7 separate regions of the Homo sapiens genome follow, and all the other regions are linked to region 6. The links are contacts of gene promoters, found by promoter capture Hi-C in blood cells and fetal thymus (Javierre and others, 2016). All regions are on one chromosome and are shown on one strand. Each heading gives the region's core, a stretch centred on a gene start or on the middle of the fragment in contact. The rest is flanking DNA. Distances are from core to core; before and after follow the strand shown.

Region 1 (2,700 bases), core at 110-2,609, 490 kb after region 6:
CATACCCCCATGAGTTTCTGATTCAGTGGGGCTGGGGTGGGCCCAGGGGTGCATGTTCCCAGGTGTTGCTGCTGCCGGCCGGCCGGCCTGGGCGACACATGGGAGGGCTTCCTTCGTACCTCCCCCAGAGTTCCTGGCCAGCCGGCTTTCTCCCCTCACTGGGCTGCAGGTGAGAACCACCTACATTTAAGCTTTGTATCCCCATGTAGCTTTCTGTTGTCATCTTACTGAAACCTATTCCCTGCAATAGTTCAAAGACAGCTGTCTCCAACAACAGGCGCTGGAGTTAACGGACGACCAGTTTTAAAAAGTCACATTCAGTCCCTGCTCTCAAAAGGCAGGAGTATTTGCCTTTTTCTAAAATTAGCAGATTCCATTTCCCATCTCAGTGCTCTTCACATGTCTCCTGTTTCATGGGAACTTGTCCCAAAATGCCCTCAACAAAGTTACAAATGTCATTTTTCTTCAGACAGAAGTAGAGCTGAAATAATTACTTGCGGAAACTATAATAGAATAGTTTCAGAAAGACAGAATGAGGAAATTACTTACAAAAATAAAACACATTCCAAATGTTTGTAAACTACGTCAAAAACAAAGAGCAAAGAAACAATATGGGGGGGTGCATGATGAAGTGGGGGCATGAGGAAGAGCAGGGGGAGGAGAGCTGAGCAGGGTAGGGGTGGCACAGCCTGAGTGTGAGCAAATGGGACCCCGAGATGCTGGAGAAAACAGAGGAGAGGCAGCAAAGAGCCTCTACATCCCAGGTGTCAAAAGGCTGTCAAAAGGCTAGTGAGAGGTGCCTGTATCGTCACCGGGGGAAATGAGCCCTCATCAATGGCAGCATTGAAACCTGAGTCTCCAAGGATGACCTGTCTGGTGTCTCTGCATCAGTGCCTCCATCTGCAACCTCAGGGCATCAGTTTCCTGGCCAGCTGGGTTATTTTTGCCTTATTAGTTATTTGTATCAATTGCCTGAAGTTTGGGTCAGATTAAATAGCAAAGACTGTGAAGATGACTAATTTAAACTGTTACCTGGTTCTGGACTAAGGAATAAAACATATCTTTTAATATTGAAAAGATACTCTAATCGGGGCTTGTTCCAAGATGAGTTCTCTTCTGAGTATTTTTAGAAATCACACAATGCTAACATACCATTAAAAGTGAGTGGAGAAAAGCGAAATGACTAATAACTATGCTTGTATACAGTGCTCTCCCAACACACACACACACACACACACACACACACACACACACGGCAAAAACCATCATAGTAGTCCCTCCTTGTTGGAGGTTTTGCTTTCTGCAGTTTGTTACTTGTGATCAACCAAGATATTAAATGAACAATTGCAGAAATAAACACTTGGTCAGTTTTGAATCACGTGTCCTTCTGAGTAGCCTGGTGAAATCTGCCATCCTGTCCTGTCCCACCATGAATGGGAATCTTCCCTTTTTCCAGTGGATCCACACTGTCTCCTCCCCTGCCTGTGAGTCACTTAGCAGTGGTCTTGGTTCTCAGACGGACTGTCTCAAGGTTGCAGAGATTGTGTTCAGGGGCCCTTACTGTACTTAATAATGGCCCAAAGCACAAGAGTACTGATGTTGGCATATTGTTATAATTGTCCTATTTCATTGCTAGTCATTGTTGCTCACTGTGCCTAATGCAGAAATTAAACTTTATCACAGGTATGTATGCATAGGAAAAAAACAGTATATATATATGCGTGCACGCACACACATACACACACACACACACACATATATTCAGTGCTGAGGTTTCAGGCATCCATGGAAGGTCCTGAAACATATCCCCCTGTGAATAAGCAGGGGACTACTATACTTAAAAGGTACTCAAATACAGTAGAGTAGTCAGCATAAAAGCAATGAATAGTAACAAGATTTTTCTCTAGAGCTCCCCTCCCGTAGTCCAGCCTGCCTTGGCACTGTGCGTCTGCTTGTAACAGTGATAAGATCAGCATCAGGGCCCATCATTTTGGGAAACTAGTATAGAATTGTTTCTAGCCTTATCCAAAGTCAACAGACTACACAGCCAGCAAATTAAATGTTTCACACACAAACCACCTGTCTAACTCACAATTATGGTGGCCCAAAATAACTTGGCTTTATTGGCCAGAAAACACTCACCTCAGCAAAACCCACCAACACTCAAAATAACCTACATGAGATGCTGGGGCTCCAGCCTTAGGGTTTCAGGGTCTGTCCCAGGGACTGGAAGTTGGATGCTGTCCCCTTGCGAGGCAGGGACCCCATTTTCCCCTCCATGCCCTGAAAGGATAGATGGCCACACCTCACCTCTTCCATTCCTCTTATTACGGATACCCTCCTATGACCACATTCTACCAGAGTTTTTAAATTAGGATTATTTTAGTTTTTAAAATGAAGTTTGTTTTCTTTTTCTTTCATATAGAAAGTAAGGAAAACACAAACATTTGGAAAGAAAATAATCACTTATCCCCAAGATAACCATGGTTTACATTAGGTTGCTTTTTTTGGTAATCTTTTTTTTTTAGAAGCTTTTTGGATAAACGTAACAAAATTTCTTAAATGTTTGAAGAAAATCAGATACATTGCCCTTCTATGTTTATGTATGCACTTTGTACTCAACAGATTAAAGACACATTTTTCTCCATCTTTTGTGTCAATTTAAACAATTATGGGTACCGTGACTCGCATCTGTAATCC
Region 2 (2,700 bases), core at 43-2,542, 430 kb before region 6:
TCCTTTTTCATTCTTGTATCGTAAACACCTAGCACAAGTCTTGAAATATAGTTATCTCTGAACAAATATATGTGGAGGAAGTGAGAATCACTGGTAATTCTTTTAAAAATGACTTTGACTCACAGTGGGATTTTTTTGGAAAGATATGCCTTGTCCATAGAATGGAAAGATCAAGTTTCACACTAAGTGTGAATAGGGCAGGAGAAGGTCTGGGGATCCATCTATCTTGTCAGAATATAGTCTTTAGAATGAGGGTTGTATGGTTTTCACTCAGGATCCAACTGGAATTGATTTCACTGTGTCTGTCATATATGCCTGTGAAAGAACAACTTTCAAAACTCCAAAGATCCCCATATTTGTGTGTGTGTGTTTGTGTGTGTGTGTGTGTGTGTTTAAAATAATTGCATGTCATAGGACGGCTGAAGCCCTTCAACCATGCCAAAAAACTTGTACAATTTGGCTGCATTAGTGTGGAATAGTGGGACTGTTGCTGAATCTTAGGAGGCAGATTATTTTTGCAGGGGAGAGTCCTGACTTTGACCAATAGCTGACCTTAAGCAAAGGAAATCAGTTTTCTAAGCCATAGTTGATTTGTAAATTAATGGTATCCTCTGAAGGTCAAATGAGCATTTTTTTGGAAACTGTAAGATGTATGTAAGTTTTCTACTTCTGTGTGACAGACTGCAGGAATTTAGCAGCTTCTGTTATCTAGCAGTCCTGTAGGTCAGAAGTCTAGGTATGTCCCAACTGGGTTTACTGTTTAGGGTTCCCTAAAGCTGGAATCAAGGTGTCAGATGAGACTTGGTTCTCATCTTCCGGGATCATTCAGGTTGTTGACAGAATTCCATTTATTGTGGCTATAGGACTGACATTTGTTTCTTCAAGGGCAGACAAAGAGCATGTGTTGTTGTTTTGTGTCTCTTTTTTAGAGCTTGCTTGCTTAGGTTGGGCCTATTCAGGAAAATCCCACCTTCTGATTAACTCAAATTCAACCAATTAGGGACCTTTACTACATGTGCCAATCTCTTGGGGCATATAAAATCACATAACACAGGAGTACTACCTCATCATAATCACTTGCTCTGCCTACTGTCCAGGGGAGGTGATTATATATGGTATACACACCAAGGGGCAGGGATCCTCAGGGTCATCTTCGGATTCTCTTATCATAGTATCATATTGTTATAAACTTTACCAATTGAATATGCTTTTCATAAGATGTTCCTATTTAATAACTTCATAGAGCTTATGAAGATGTTCCTTGGGATAAGATGCTACCACCAAAACTTGTTCCAGAAGAAACAACATTGGAAAAAACCGCTGACCCCATCTCACAGTGTTTTACTCTGAAAAGATATAAAGGGGTGCCAGCAATAACTCAGGTCAGCAGACTTCTCTGAACAATAATGTATTTCTCATTGTTATTGAAATGAGTTCTAAAACTTTAAGTCAAAATAATACTTATTTTATTGTTAACAATACCTAAGGAAGTAAATTTATGTAAGATAAGTAAATATATATACACACACACACACACACACGTATGGAGTTGAAATTTCCGTAATCGTGCAAGTTATTGATGACTGCAAATACTTTGATGTTTTCAATATTCAAAACTTTTATTGATTATGTAAAGACTACCTCTTTCTCAAAAGTTATTTGCAATGACTGTGTTTATTTTTGGAATTGCAAGAGAATGAGTAAATAATGAAGAAGACAGAAATAATTTTACCAGATAACCTATGCTGAAGATGGTTCTTCACACAGGATCTAGATCTTAGCTCTGTACTTTTCATGGCAAAAAGAGAAGATCCATAGATTGCTATCTGATGTTGTCACTTATTATGTGATAAAACAAAGCATACCAACTTTTCAGTAGTGACACTCATTCTTTTTATTTCCGAGTGTCAAGAAGAATTTATCACAGGAATTATCATATCTATGCCATAGCCAGATAACTTTTCGTAATGTGTGAATCTGTTTGTATTACTCCACTGATTAAACCCATCCTTTTTTATTTAAAAATAAAATCCACACTCCTTGACGTGACACAGACCCAATTCTCCATTATTTGCCCATGGTTCCCTCCTTAGCTTCATCCCTGCCCCGTTCTCGTCTTCTTACTGTTCCTCTTTATTGCCCAAACATCACCCCACAGTGTACTCTGTCCTTTCTCTGCTGAGCTTCTCTCAAGTCCTCAAGTCTCCCATGCTCGTTTCCAGGTTGTGTGCTTTGCAAAGAGTCTTCCACTGCCTTCATCACTCTCCCTATTTATGCTAGGTGAATCTCAAGAATTCTTCAGGTCTTATTGTAACCCTCACTTTTGACCTCCCAACACTGGATTAGATGTCTCAGCTCTGTGCTTGCGAAGTACCTTCTACTTCCATTGATTCCTTTATCTTTTTGTGCCACTTCTCACGCGTAGGAGTCTGGTTAAGCCCTTGGGCTTTTCCCATAATGAAGTTTTTGAGTACACAAAATCCATAGGATTAAAAAGTAAATCAATTATATTGAAATACAGCTCTTAATATAGATCCCAAGAGGTCCCCTGATGGTAGGTTAAGATGCCTATATTTTCTTGTAAAATTTATTCAGCTTTTACAGAGAAAAATGATAATAAAAGAGGAAAAACATGTCTTTAATATAAAGACTCAAACCTGAGATTTTTCACATAGAAAAAGTGAATTAAAATAAAAATAT
Region 3 (2,700 bases), core at 1-2,500, 450 kb before region 6:
AATAATACAAAATTATCTTGGAATAATAATTAAATGGTGCAAAGGAAAAACAGAGAAAACCAAAATTTAACAAAGGACGTTGAATAAAAAATGAAAAAATATTCAAGAGAATGAACATGAGATAAAGAATATTTAAAAGTGTTAAAGAGAAGATGGTTGAAGTGGAAGATAAACAAAGAAGAAACAATATACATATAATTGGAGGTCCTGAAGAGCAAAAACCAAGCAGTGGAACAGAATGTGTTAAACCATGGTTTCTGGACCTTGGCATGGTCAGAATTTTGGGCTTCATAAATCTTTGCTGAAGGAGACTATCCTGTGCAATGTAGGATGATTAGCAACACCCCTGACCTCACCCACTAGATGCCAGTAGCACCCTTCCCAGGTGAAAAGCTACAAAATGAACAGCAAAGTAAATCAAAAGAAAGCACGAAAAGAAAAATAAAAAAATGATAAGCAAAGTAATGAATAAATTAGAGAAGATGAAGTAACGGGCACTCAAGCTACTTTTCTGCTTTAGCCAAATAGAAAACTGGACAAATTATAAAAAATAATCATTTCCAGACACTGGCCAAAGGCACTGAAGGACTGGGATCTCTAAAGAAGGGAAACTAACGATGTGAGCCCTGCAATTACACCAGCTTGCTTCCTGGGGGCAGTTTTTAAGCCACAGCCCAGGAAAGTGAAACCCAAACATAGCTTTACATTCTTGTTGGATTGAGGAGAGAGATTAGAGTTCTGGGAAGCCAAGGAATGTAGAATTTGCAGGGTAAGATAGCAGAGAAGAGGGAGTTATCCGGATGTGGAGGAGCAGTGGGGCTTTGGAGATATGCAAAAGAGATCGCTCAGGTCTTTGGGTACTGATCTATGTAAACATAAAAGGAACTACTAAAGCTAAGGAAAAACCCACTGTAAAGAAGTGGGCATAAGCTTTCCCTGAAACTCAAACAGGACAGGGAACGTTTTATGTCCCCACAAACTAGAATAAAAAACTTTATAGTACATAGGTACATCAGGTCAGATCTTCAAAGGGATATTACCTTTGTAGTCAGGCTTAACTAGTCCAACTTTAAAGATTCCTCTGGACTTTCTCAAATTTTAAAAGCATCCGACTGATTCCAATTACTTTATTTGCTGGAAAAAAAATCCAAAACTTAAGAATAAAACAACTTCCAGCAACCAACCAACAACTTAAAGTCCAAAATAAGTTCTCAGTTTAAAAAATAAAATGAAACTACTTTTCATGCAAAGAAGCAGAAAAATATCACCCAGGGGAAAAATCTGTCAATAATAACAGATCTATGAGTGACAGACATAGAAGACCAAGCAGCTATTGTATTCAAACAGCTATTACAAATCTGTTTCATATGTTCAGATCATAGAGACAGCCACAACCATGATGAGAACAAGGGATGATATGAAGATACAAACGGACTTCTAGACATGAAAAATACATCTGAAGTAAAAGATAAGTTGGTAGTTTTAAGAACAGAGCAGATCTTGCATGATGAAAGATCAGTGAAAATAAAGACATAGCAACATAAACTATTCAAAACGAAAAGAGAGAAAATAAAGCTTCAAAATAAAGCATCAGTTACTGCGGAACGGTATCTAGTAAGAAGTCTAACATACATGCATTGGGGTCTCAGAATAAAAGTGAGCTGAGAAAAAAGATTGGTGACACAATGACACAAATTGTTCCTAACTGATCAAAATTATAAATCTGAAGACACAAGATGTTCAACAAATTTCAATCTGTATAAATTTTTTTTAAAATTATGCCCAAAACACATCAATGACATTGCTGAAAAACAGTGATAAAGATAAAATCTTAAAAACAGCTAGAGAAAAGATATTTACAAAGAAACACATGTAAGAATGACTTCTGGCTTTTTGTCAGTTTCTGCAAGCCAGAAGAAAATAAATGCACATATTTTAAGTAACAAAAACAAATAACAATAAACTAAGAAGATATTAACTAACAATAAAAATATTTAAAATTAGAGGCAAAATAGAAACATTTTTTGTAAAAACAAAGCTGAAAGAATGCACTGCCAGTAGACCTGAAGGAATTTCTTTAGACAGAAGAAAATAATGTATATGAAAATTCAAGTTCACACAATGAAATAAATTGAGGTGAACAGAAATGGTAAACATATGGGTAAATATAAAATACTATTTTTCATCTTGGAGTTCTTTACAGTATCACTGTTTAAAGCAACAATAATAGTAATGTGTTTCAGGTTTATAGCATATAAAAAAGTAAATTGTGTGACAGTAGTATAAGGGACAGCAAAGAAAATGAGCATATGCTGTTTAAATTTTTTTACACTATTTTTGAAATGATATATTATTATCCTGTAAACCCTGGAGTTAAAGATGTATATTGTAAAATATGTATACTATAAATCCTAGAGAGACAGCAACAACAGAAAAGAAAAAAATTTTTAAAGCATATGTAGTAAGTTAATAGGAGATAAAATGAAATTTTAAAATTAAAAAAATTCTTAACTAACTCAAAAGAAAGTAACACAAAAGAAAAATAGAGAAGATAAAACAAATAGAAAACAAAAACAGATTTAAACTAAATTATGTCCACTGTTAAATAGAATTTAATATAATGAACTTAAAAGTCACAAATTGTTAGTTGGATAAAAAATTAAGACCCAGCCGGGTGAGGTGGCTCACGCCTGTAATTCC
Region 4 (2,700 bases), core at 35-2,534, 510 kb after region 6:
AGAAAGTTTCAGTTCTATCCAAATTGACTATACTGGTCAATTTATGGATACAATCTAGTTTTAAGAAAAATTGGCAATAAATTCTGGAACTGAATATCCAATAAGAAAAACATGAATTAATAATGAATTAAAATAAAGCAGAGTTCTTCACAGGAACATTTCCAAGTATCAGTGAATTTCAGACAGGTGAATATTATCAACCTAAAATTTGCATATAATTTACCTCCTTCAAAAAAATATAAACCTCAATCAAACAAATCTCTGTTATTAATGCATTTATATGTAAACCCCAAAGGAAGTAAATTCTGGGTATACAATGAGCCCTTTTATCCTGAAAGGAGGAAGAACAACAGGAAAATCAGAGCCAGGGCAGAAGAGACACTGGGAAAGGTCCGAGGTCAGGAAGAGGCCCGTCCATCAGAAGCGCTTGGCCTGAGTAGGGAATGACGCACAGCAATAAACTGCGGGGGGAAAATAAATGGCAAAATGTGAACGCACACTTGCGGTGAAATAAATATCTGCCATTATCATTCATTTTCCAGCCCCTGGAGATTTAACACTGCATAGCAAGCGTTCTATCAGCCAAAGCATATTGTTATTGTTTTCTTCCTTTCCATTTAGTCTTTTTGTATGCCAGCTGTGGAAAGGGCCTATTGATCCAACAGATATGATTCTGCCTCCTGTAAGAACCATATCATAAGCATCACTTCCCTCATGGTTGGTCTTTCAGGTTGCCACATAAAATTATTTGGATTTGGTATGAAACCTAAGGTCCTTACAAGCCGAGACACGAAGCAGCTGGTAGGCAAGTCATTTATTTCTTACCTCTTGAAAAACAGTCTAAGTTACTTGTAGAACTCCAGAGGAAAACAGACCATATGGCTTTGTGATGCCCTCAATTTCAGTGTATCCCATCTTGATAATGGTGACACTGGGCAGGCCCCACATATAAACTTAGAGAATACTGGTTGATTTACTGAGTTGGAGATGGATATCAACTCCAAGTACCTGTGGAGCAAACTCCTCTTGAGTGCTGCTGTTTTCTCTAGTGGGAGACTGACCTGTGGTGCAAAGGGCTATTACATGAGAGTAGCTTTAAATCTCTGAAGGCCTTGGGGGAAAGGGATTAAAATAAAGAAGGGCCATGCCTGAGTGCACATCAGCACCCAAAACCTCCTGAGACAAACAGTTTAGAAGACTATTGTCATAAGAGAATGCCTGATTCATAATCTCTATTTACTTCTTAACTAGTAAAACAAGGTAATGATTTTTTTTTTTTTTTTTTTTTTTGAGACAGAGTCTCGCTCTGTTGCCAGGCTAGAGTGCTGTGGCGCGATCTCGGCTCACTGCAACCTCCAACTCCCTGATTCAAGGGATTCTCCTGCCTTTGCCTCCAGAGTAGCTGGGATTATAGGCATGCACCGCCATGCCTGGCTAATTTTTGTATTTTTAGTAGAGATGGGGTTTCACTATATTGGCCAGGATGGTCTCGATCTCCTGACCTCGTGATCCACCCGCCTCAGCCTCCCAAAGTGCTGGGATTACAGGCGTGAAGGTAATGATATTTAATAACAACTTCAAACCATTGTTGAAAAATCAAGATGTTTATGCCTTATTTCTGGGAAGGACTCAAATTTATATAAACCCAAAGAGAAGTTCTTCAACATGGTTTTTATACGTAACCTGAGTACATGCTACTAGTTAAAGCTCAAGGAAACAAAATACAGTTGTGATTATTTGCATCAGCTTAGGGCTTGAGCACTCATGAAAATCAAAGAAATCTGTTCTCAGGTTTCTTAACTAAATAATATTACTTCTTTTCACCATTTCTATTCATATTTGTTACTACTTTGCAGTGGTATTTTGGTAAATGGTTAGTAACCAGCTCTTTGGAGGAAAAAGGTATAAATAGTTATAATCAGTTTTACTTATATAAAGGATAAGTAGCACAAAATTTATAAGTAATAATAAAATGCATAATACTATTTTTTGTAAATTCTGTATTACCAGTTGATTCTCATAGAATGCTTTCATTAATTTTTCCCAGATTCTTTAACCTGTAGCCAGTCAATTATTACCGTTAACAAAGAAGTATAACTTCAACATGATGGCATCAGACAGTAAGATGAGAATAAAACCAGAAAGATATATGTTGGAATTTTACTCATTTGTCAATCCCATGAATGACTTGGCTGAATTGATCATGGTTTTTGGAAAATGGATGTACAACTCAATTTTTTCTGCTATTCACAATGTATTGGCTACAGATATGACATACTTTTCTATTTAATCTGTATTATTACATTTCCCAATCACTGTCTTATATCTAGACAATTAACAAGACCAATCAATATCTGATTTGTAACATTTGCTAATTCCTATGCTATAAATAGTTTCTTGATGGTTGATTTCCTGCTATTGACATCAGTCACTGAATGCGGTGCTGTGAAGAGATGTGTAGTAGCACACTATGATATATTTTTACTATTCTAAAGCATTAAATCCTACAGATCCGATACATGTAAACAACCTCAAGAACACTGAAATAGTAATGAAATGTACTAAAATAATTAGGAAGTGATGAGTTTTTAGTATTTGTTACCTCTGTTTTTAATATTATTTATTTAATTGTATGTCTATATAATTTACTTTTTAATAGTGGATCTGTTCAGCCATTGGTTTGCAAAATTCCTGAAATTT
Region 5 (2,700 bases), core at 76-2,575, 430 kb after region 6:
ACAGAAGTGACAATCCTGTCTAAAGAGCTTGCGGTCCAGTGAGGAAAGAGCCACATCCTTCAACAGTGACCTGAGTTCTCTGCCCTACCTGTCCCACTGCTCCTATGGAGGCTGGCTTGGGCCGGCATCCTAGCTCCTGCCTTCCTAGGGCCATCTGCCTGTTTGCCTGCTGAGCTTGGCCTTCCTTCTACAGCCTGCACCCTCCCTTCTGTGGGGCACGAAACTGCCCTCAGGATGCTCACTGAGTTTCAGTTCTCCTTTTAGCAATAGAGGCCACTTTTCTTTCCTAGCATTATTGACAGCCTGTTGGTCACCTTTTAAAAATCCTGTAGCCCATGTTCACCTGGGGATGGGAAATGACACCAACCAAGGAAACAAAAGATAACTTTGTCCTTGAAGCTCTGAGGTTGCTTACAGCCACACCCTGCTCTTGCCAGGGAGGACAGAATGAGGGTTCTTGCAGAGAACAGAGCTATGCCGTGTGCCCAAGTTCCAGGAGGCTGGGACTGTGTTTCTCTTCTTTGTTCCAGTGAAGGAGAGTGGATGCTCAGAATGTGTTTGTCGAATAAATGGATGACATAAAGCATAGGCATCGCTGGGGAGAGAACCCACAGTTAGCTTGGCTTTGATGGTCCTTAAAGTGTTCTCGATGTTTATAGATTTATGATAGGGGCCTCTTGTCCAGCTGCTCCTCTCCAACCTGAATATTATGTGATGTATTGTGTATTTTTATTACCACTGTTCTATTTACATTTAGTGAAGATGAATAAGAGTTGACCATTTTATATTCCATGGGGCTAATTAGTAAGAAGTCTGTCTTATCTTTCCTTTTTTTTTTTTTTTGAGGTGGAGTTCCGCTCTCGTCGCCCAGGCTGGAGTGTAATGGCACGATCTTGGCTCACTGCAACCTCCACCTCCCGAGTTCAAGTGATTCTCCTGCCTCAGCCTCCTGAGTAGCTGGGATTACAGGCACGCACCACCATGCCCAGCTAATTTTTGTGCTTTTTGTAGAGACGGGGTTTCACCATGTTAGCAAGGCTGGTCTCGAACTCCTGGCCTCAGGTGATCCACCCTTCTCGGCCTCCCAAAGTGCTGGGATTACAGGCATGAACCACCACACCTGGCCTCTTATCTCTCCTGATAAGACTATTTCAGTATATGTTTTATTTTATTTATATGAATTTAAGGGGTACAAGTGCAATTTTATTACATGGATGTATTGCATAATGATGAGGTCTGGGCTTTTGGGGTATCCATCACCCAACCACCCAAATAATGTACATTGAACCCATTAAGTAAATTCTCATCATCTACTCCACTCCTGTCTACTTCCCCCTTTTGACTCTCATTCCACACTCTATGTCCATGTGTACATGTTATTTAGCTCTCACTTATAAGTGAGAACATGTGACATTTGCCTTTCTGTGTCTGAGTGGTTTTACTTAAGATAATGGCCTTCAGTGCTACCCATGTTGCTGCGAAGTCATGCTTTCATTCTTTCTTAGGGCTGAACAGTATTCCATGGTGTATATATATATACATATATATATCATATTTTATTTATCCAGTAGTCTGCTGATAGATACTTAGGTTGATTCCATATCTCTGCTATTGTGAATAGCTCTGTGATAAACATGTGGATGCAAGTATCTTTAAATTTTTTTAATTTTTAATTTTTTTCAACTTTTATTGTCGATTCAGGGTAGTACCTGTCCAGGTGTGTTACCTGGGTATATTGTGTGATGCTTGGGTTTGGCATATAAATGGCCCCATCCCCCAGGTACCTAGCACAGTACCCAACAGTTTTTCAAGCCTTGCTCCCCTCCCTCCCAGTAGTCCCCAGTGTCTATTGTTGCATCTGTACATCTATGAGTCCCCAGTGTTTAGCTCCCACTTACAACTAGGTACCATTTCACCACAGTCAGAATGGCAATTATTAAAAAGTCAAAAAACAACAGATGTTGGCAAAGACTATGGAGAAAGGGGAACATTATACACTGTTGATAGGAATGTAAATTAGTTCAGCCACTGTGGAAAGCAGTTTGGAGATTTCTCAAAGAACTTAAAACAGGGCTACCATTCAACCCAGCAATCCCATTACTGGGTATATATCCAAAAGAAAAACAAATCATTCTATCAAAAAGACACACACACGCTTGTACTTGTTCATTGCAACACTATCCACAATAACAAAGATGTGGAATCAACCCAGGAGCCCATCAAAGTTGGACTGGATAAAGAAAATATGCTACATATACACCATGGAATACTATGCAGCCATTAAAAATAATGAAATTATGTCCTTTGAAGCAACACAGATGCAGCTGGAGGCCATTATCCTAAGTGAATTTATGCAGTAACAGAAAACCTGATATGATTTTTGTAAGATTTTTTTCCACCAGCTTTTAATAAAACAGTTATTTTATTATTTTATTTTATTTTTTTCAAAGGTTTTTTATTTATACTGCACAGTTGGTAATGGGCAGAGAGTGATCTTTGCTACAACAAGGTCCATGGCCTGACTAAAGCAACATTCTTTTACCTCTCAAAGACAGGACACCGATTTCATCTGCTTAAAGTCTCCTCTTGGTTTTCAGCAGCTGCCATCCAACAGTGTTTGCTTTGGAATGCTGGAAAGCAAAGAAAAAAGAATTGCAAAAAAAAAAAAAAAAAATTCAATCATTTTCTTCTAAGGGCAAA
Region 6 (2,700 bases), core at 1-2,500:
TCCCTGGTTTCAAAAATGTCACATATCCACTTTGCCAGGACTTCCAGGGTAGAGTTCTATAGGGTCATCTTCATCCTACACCGCATCCAGATAAGCACAGGGAGCAAGGCTGAATGCTGGAGGGACTTACCCCAGCCATGGGAGCAGCGCTTGTCGCCCTGGACCTACACACTGGATTGCTTGGCTGCCCGACAGCACCAAGTGCAAACGGGCTACATTCACATTTCGTCTCTGCCAGCTGCAAGATCTTATGCCATCCTCCTCCCCTCCTCTGGCTGTTTGCTCACTTGTGAAATGGGGATGTGACTGGAGGTGAAGAAGGCAAACCTTCTAGACAGAGCCCAATGTAAACTGACCACTCAGAAGTAATGGTTTTAACTCACGCATGATGGAGAGCAATGATTTCCATCGATTAAGCTTTGATTCTTATATACTTCCGACAACAGACTTAAAACCAGGAGAACTTCGACTCCTTGAAGTCGATAACCGAACAATTCTCCCAATAGAAATTCCTATCCGCATATGTTTTCAGATGGGAATTGTACTCAGCATGGCAAGTTGGTGGGAAAGATCTTCTAATTCTCCTCAAATCACACTGCATAGGTAGACACCAAATTGACCTCTAAGTAAACTATAACATACACCAAAAGGAGAGAGCCCTGACGGAGCCTCAGATGTTATAAAGGGAAGGGCAGAGTTCACATTTACTAATCACCTCCATAAAATCATGGGATTTAATCCTCACAAGGTAGATACTAAGAAAATCCTCATTTACAGAAGAAACAGAGGCTGGGGGAATAAAATACCCAACACCATCCCTGGTGGTGCATGGAAAAAATAGAATCACATCTGGCCCGCATTTGCTACTGAGCCAGTCATGAAATCATTCCCAGCACCTATCAAACATGTGTCACTGGAGTGACTGTGTGTGCATGGAGAGCCACCAAGTGCACAGCCCCCACTGAACAAAAACCCCTGCCAGCCTGCAGCAGAAGAGAAAGCACCACACAAGCTCCCTCAAGTGAGTTAACCTTTAAGCAAATGTTCAGTAACATGGGGCCAGAGAGTCAAGGTACATGTTGCTGTTTTCCACTACTACAATCTGAGTAGGTATAAAATCAGAGACTTACATGCTGGAAATTCGAATTCCTTACAGGGCTACTCTCCTTGATGGGATTCTCCAACTTTGGGGACTGAAGAGCATGTGGAGAAGCTGCTGAGGCACTCGGCACTGAGACAGTCACTCTTCTTGAAACTCCAAGCCACACGTTTCCCTCTTCTTGCATTTCCAGCCACATGTGCCAGTTAAACATTAATTCCTGATGGTGACAAAGGTCAAGGAAATCTTGAGAAATAGCTCGCCTCTGGGAATCCTGAGAGCACATTCTGAAGAGACTGTTTCATTCCAAATCCTGGAAGCTTGGATCTTTCTTATGTAATTCTACATACATCCCATCTTTTACTAAGCAGCCCTGATTTCAAGTTTGGAGCCCATTAAGTCATCTGATATGTTCCAGCCCTGCACCAGGTGATGCCTGCATTGCACACAGCCTCCTGCCCCTGAAGGCAGCCCCAAAGTAAGCCTGCACTTCCCGGTGCAGCACTCAGCAATATGGGTAAGATTTCCAGGTTCAGATATCAGCAGAACCCAGGAACTCACCTTCCTTCCCCAAACCCATCAAAATCATAGTTGAGATGCATGAAACAATACTCTGAGTGGAATTTGGACAAATTTATAAAAAAACCCCAAAGTCGATAGAATTTTATGAGAGCACAAAGCAGGGCTGAGAAAGCCACATTGAGAAGTTGAGCAGGCACAGCCTGCAGGGATCTTAGGAGCTGGTCTTTCTGGCAGACCCCCAGCAGCTCCAAGCGTGGGGCTCAGTGGGTGTGAAGAGCAGAGTGAGAGTGAGGCTGGCTGCGGGCAGCTCATTAAAGGACTGGAAACAAGGCAGAGAGGGCTGTCACTAGAGCCATTTGTCACAGGCTAGATGCAGGGAAGAGCTCTCCTTGCTCTATCCTAGGGGACTGGAGCAGGCTGGGGCGGGGCACCTAGGGTTCCTATTGTTAGGACTGGAACTGGAGAGAGAAGCAGAGTGACATTGAGGAGTCTCAAAACCTCCACAGGAGCCATTGGAGGAAAGAGGGAAAAGAGAAAGAATGGCAAGTGAGCCCTCCAATGACGCACACCCAAATGCTCCCGCCTGGGGTCTCACAGGAGCTGAGAACCGAAGAAGTGATTGTCCTTGGTAAGGGGAAGAGTGAGGGAAGGGCTCCAAAGAGGGAACAGCCTCTGCAAAGTTACTGAGGATCAAGCTCGGCATCTCCCAGGCCCTGACAGAAGGCCAACTCCTAAGGACCATTCAAAGTAGGGGAGGGGGAGTCTTGCAAGCCACGTTACGTAATTTGTATCCCCCCAACTGTAATAGAAGGCATTGAAGTGTTTCTAGAAAGCAGTAACCTTAGCTTACTTATGGTTTAAGATCACTCTGGCTCTGGGGTAGAAAATGGATCAGAGGGAGATAAGGGTGAAAGGGTTAGACCCTTTAAGTTGGACCACCAATTCCCACCACATTCCTTGGATTTCTGCACTTTCCTGCAAACCAGGAGTGAATTCAAGTGAATCCATTCTAGGAGATGGGCTGGGGGAGGGAGGGGGGGCTTGAGATGAAGAAGCGTGCTAATATTCCCCATAAGTGC
Region 7 (2,700 bases), core at 83-2,582, 470 kb after region 6:
GCATGACTGTCTTCCCTATTGCTTTTGCCATGGACTTTAATTATTTGAATGCACTTTACTAAAGTTCTGCTTTTCTCTTTCATGGAATGAGATGGTTTAAATACATTTAAATTTTTAATAAAATATATGGCAGAGAAAAATGGAAATTGCCATATAAAAGAGCAATCTGAAATGGAAAAGAGATTTAAATACTTGGAAAGATGGAAAACTTTTTAAATGCTTGCTCTTAGTTTAGGATGCTTAAAGCCCAGCCAAACAAAATTACAGACATACTTTTACTTCAAAGTATTTGCCTTTATTTTAAAGTATGCTTGATCACGTCACTATGAGACATGGAACATAATGATATCAATAAGAATTAAAAAAAATAATAAGATAAAAACTCCACTGATTCTACCATTTTGCAAAATAGCAAAACAAAACAAAACAAAACAAAAACCCACCCCAAGCTGATGAAGATGTGATGAATCTGACAGACCCACACTTGTTGCTACAGGTTTTAATTGGAAAGCAATGTGGAAATACATATCAAAAAACACACAAACAAAAATCACGTTATCTTTGTAAGAACTTTGGCCCATTAATCTCTTTTTTAATAATCTGCTTTAAGGAAACCCTATAGAAGGAAAAATATAAATACAACAAAGTTCATGTAAGAATTCTAGAAATGTCCAGCACTAGGCAGTTACCTAAATTATTACATATATATTTCAAAGGGCATTAAAATCAGTAAATATGATGATCATTAAGTCTATGTAGAAACACACATCCATGCTTATGTTAGCATGTTATGTGAAGAAATCAGCACACACATATATAGAAACACTGTGATGATTTAAAAATAGCAAATACCTTTGGACAAGGCGGAGACAGAAATCTAACAAGAAACCAACCAGCATGACTTAAGGAAAAGGATGAATTAGGATGAATATTTTACCCTTTTTCTTTAGAACTGTGCTTGGTTGAGTTCAAAGCAGCTTGAGTGACAGAGCAAATTTTTAGCCAGCAAAATTTAAAAGGATAATTTTGTCCTTTAGTGAACAAGAATTCTTTCCTGCAAAGGAGTCTGCATTCTTCTTACACTGCACACAGTAAGCACTTTATTTTGTTACTGAGTGCCTAGCAATCTTAGTGCGTGGCTGTCAGCCTGAAACTGTAACAGAGAGGCTGTACAAGGTCTGAACAGTCTCAGCCCTTCAACACCTTCCTCCTCCCAGGCTCCGGGCTCCCTGCCCTCTAGAAACAGCAGGAGCCCAGCTCCAGGCGCTTGGGGCTGCTTCTGAGCTGGTTTCTCCCCTATCCACCAGTTACAGCTGCCTTTCTGGAGTCTGGGGACCCTGTGCTCAGCCCTAGTCCTTCATCCCTGTGTTTTTTCCTGTCCAGCTCCCTCCCACCACTGGCCTCACTTGGCACTCTATAGAGGTTGCCCCGGACGCTGCTGCTTGGTTCCAGGCAATGCTGGTACCTCTGCATCCCACCTCTGCTCCAGCTTTGCTCCCCCACACTTCAGTGTGGGGCTGGCTCCTTGGGGCCCTGCTTGCCCTGAAAGAAAGAGTGGACATGAGCTAGGAGCTCCCAGCCTGTGTGCACCGTGGAGTGAGGGAAGGTCTGGCCACCACGCAGCCCAGGACCTTGTTTGGTGTTCCTCCTGAGGCTGCCAAGCTCCTGGCATCTCTGAGAGAGGAAAGAGGAGCAGCCTGCTCTTCTTTTGATGCAAAACAGGGCGGCTGTGTTCTGAGCATGTATGAATGGATTATCTAGCAAAAGCCAGAGCCAATGGCAATGTAGTGATTTTACTTTCCAGTGTAAGAAAGCAGGAGGGAGAGACAGCAGTATTTTCCTTCCTTACTAACTCCCATCTACTTCTCTCCAAAGGGTTACTAATGGATTATAAACATTCCTCTCTCTTTGCAAAACCACCAGATTTATGCCCTTAGTCACTGGGCTTGGAGGCCAGTTCCCTGTGGGCTTAGCAGGGGAGCCCTAGGTATGTGTCCCTGAAGAGTTAGCAGTCAGCAAGAAACATCAGCCTCTGTTAGCTTAAAGTAAACCTGCCCAGATGTTTTTCTCCCGGGCTTCCTTCCCCCCCACCAACACATACCTCAATCTTTAGAAACGTTCCTTATTGACAGTTTGTTCTGGCTTAAGATCAAGGAAATAAATGCAAACAAACACAGGGAAGACATTTTGATATCAGGCTGCATGTGTTGAATAAGTATTGCAGTTATTTTCTCACACGGAGTTGGGGACTCTGCAGGGAATGTGAATGTTTAGGCTACTGGGGCATGCAATATGAGGGACACAGCTCAGCACCGGCAAGTTTCAAACCAGAGTCTGCCCAGGAAGTGGACCTGCGTCCTTGGGCCCAGCCTCTTGGGATGGTCGGAGGGTGGCAGGCTGACCGATCCACCCAGCCGGGTGTGTGCAGGGCTTGCTGAGCCTCTGCATTCATACCCCAGCCTCCAGCAAAAACGAGAACTAGGGACAGTCAAATTCAGTTAGTGCCAGGAGCCAAAAGCGCTTTTTGATTTGTTGTTTTCATTTGCTATGAGGGAGAATGGGCTGAATCTGACCAATCCGAAATGTACAAGATGGGTTCATAGCACATGAGGTCACTTTTTCTTTTTGATGAGGCTAGTACAGTGGCAGAATTAATGAAAAAAAAAAAAAGTCTGAGAGGAGAGAGATGTTGCTTTTAGG

The links. Contacts are between HindIII fragments. The CHiCAGO score rates a contact against its expected background, and 5 or more counts as called.
Region 1: a fragment that was not itself captured here is called in contact with the fragment with the promoter of DDC in region 6 in 5 of 17 cell types (non-activated CD4 T cells, erythroblasts, megakaryocytes and 2 more); the score reaches 7.1 in non-activated CD4 T cells.
Region 2: a contact is called between a fragment that was not itself captured here and the fragment with the promoter of DDC in region 6, in 6 of 17 cell types (neutrophils, erythroblasts, non-activated CD4 T cells and 3 more). The highest score is 6.8, in neutrophils.
Region 3: a fragment that was not itself captured here is called in contact with the fragment with the promoter of DDC in region 6 in 9 of 17 cell types (total CD8 T cells, erythroblasts, naive CD4 T cells and 6 more); the score reaches 8.6 in total CD8 T cells.
Region 4: a contact is called between a fragment that was not itself captured here and the fragment with the promoter of DDC in region 6, in 2 of 17 cell types (erythroblasts and megakaryocytes). The highest score is 6.1, in erythroblasts.
Region 5: a contact is called between a fragment that was not itself captured here and the fragment with the promoter of DDC in region 6, in 2 of 17 cell types (total CD4 T cells and non-activated CD4 T cells). The highest score is 5.2, in total CD4 T cells.
Region 7: a contact is called between a fragment that was not itself captured here and the fragment with the promoter of DDC in region 6, in 2 of 17 cell types (erythroblasts and megakaryocytes). The highest score is 5.8, in erythroblasts.

The regions. Positions count from the first base shown.
Region 1 is chr7:51,055,597-51,058,296 of GRCh38, forward strand. All of the region lies in intron 7 of COBL (cordon-bleu WH2 repeat protein), which reads right to left. Among named protein-coding and RNA genes, the nearest start is that of COBL, 260 kb to the right of the region's middle. The HindIII fragment of the contact is 2,340 bases long and covers 190-2,529 here.
Region 2 is chr7:50,132,865-50,135,564 of GRCh38, forward strand. It overlaps SPMIP7 (sperm microtubule inner protein 7), which reads left to right. Exons shown (of 9, transcript NM_001161834.3): 4 at 1,244-1,382. Among named protein-coding and RNA genes, the nearest start is that of SPMIP7, 38 kb to the left of the region's middle. The HindIII fragment of the contact is 3,110 bases long and covers 1-2,700 here.
Region 3 is chr7:50,112,080-50,114,779 of GRCh38, forward strand. The region is part of intron 2 of SPMIP7 (sperm microtubule inner protein 7); the gene reads left to right. Among named protein-coding and RNA genes, the nearest start is that of SPMIP7, 18 kb to the left of the region's middle. The HindIII fragment of the contact is 645 bases long and covers 929-1,573 here.
Region 4 is chr7:51,072,925-51,075,624 of GRCh38, forward strand. All of the region lies in intron 7 of COBL (cordon-bleu WH2 repeat protein), which reads right to left. Among named protein-coding and RNA genes, the nearest start is that of COBL, 240 kb to the right of the region's middle. The HindIII fragment of the contact is 4,001 bases long and covers 1-2,700 here.
Region 5 is chr7:50,994,902-50,997,601 of GRCh38, forward strand. No RefSeq gene overlaps it. Among named protein-coding and RNA genes, the nearest start is that of GRB10, 210 kb to the left of the region's middle. The HindIII fragment of the contact is 5,530 bases long and covers 1-2,700 here.
Region 6 is chr7:50,564,155-50,566,854 of GRCh38, forward strand. DDC (dopa decarboxylase) reads right to left here and starts at 1,251. Exons shown (of 15, transcript NM_001082971.2): 1 at 1,131-1,251. The HindIII fragment of the contact is 1,002 bases long and covers 416-1,417 here.
Region 7 is chr7:51,032,708-51,035,407 of GRCh38, forward strand. All of the region lies in intron 8 of COBL (cordon-bleu WH2 repeat protein), which reads right to left. Among named protein-coding and RNA genes, the nearest start is that of GRB10, 250 kb to the left of the region's middle. The HindIII fragment of the contact is 3,054 bases long and covers 1-2,700 here.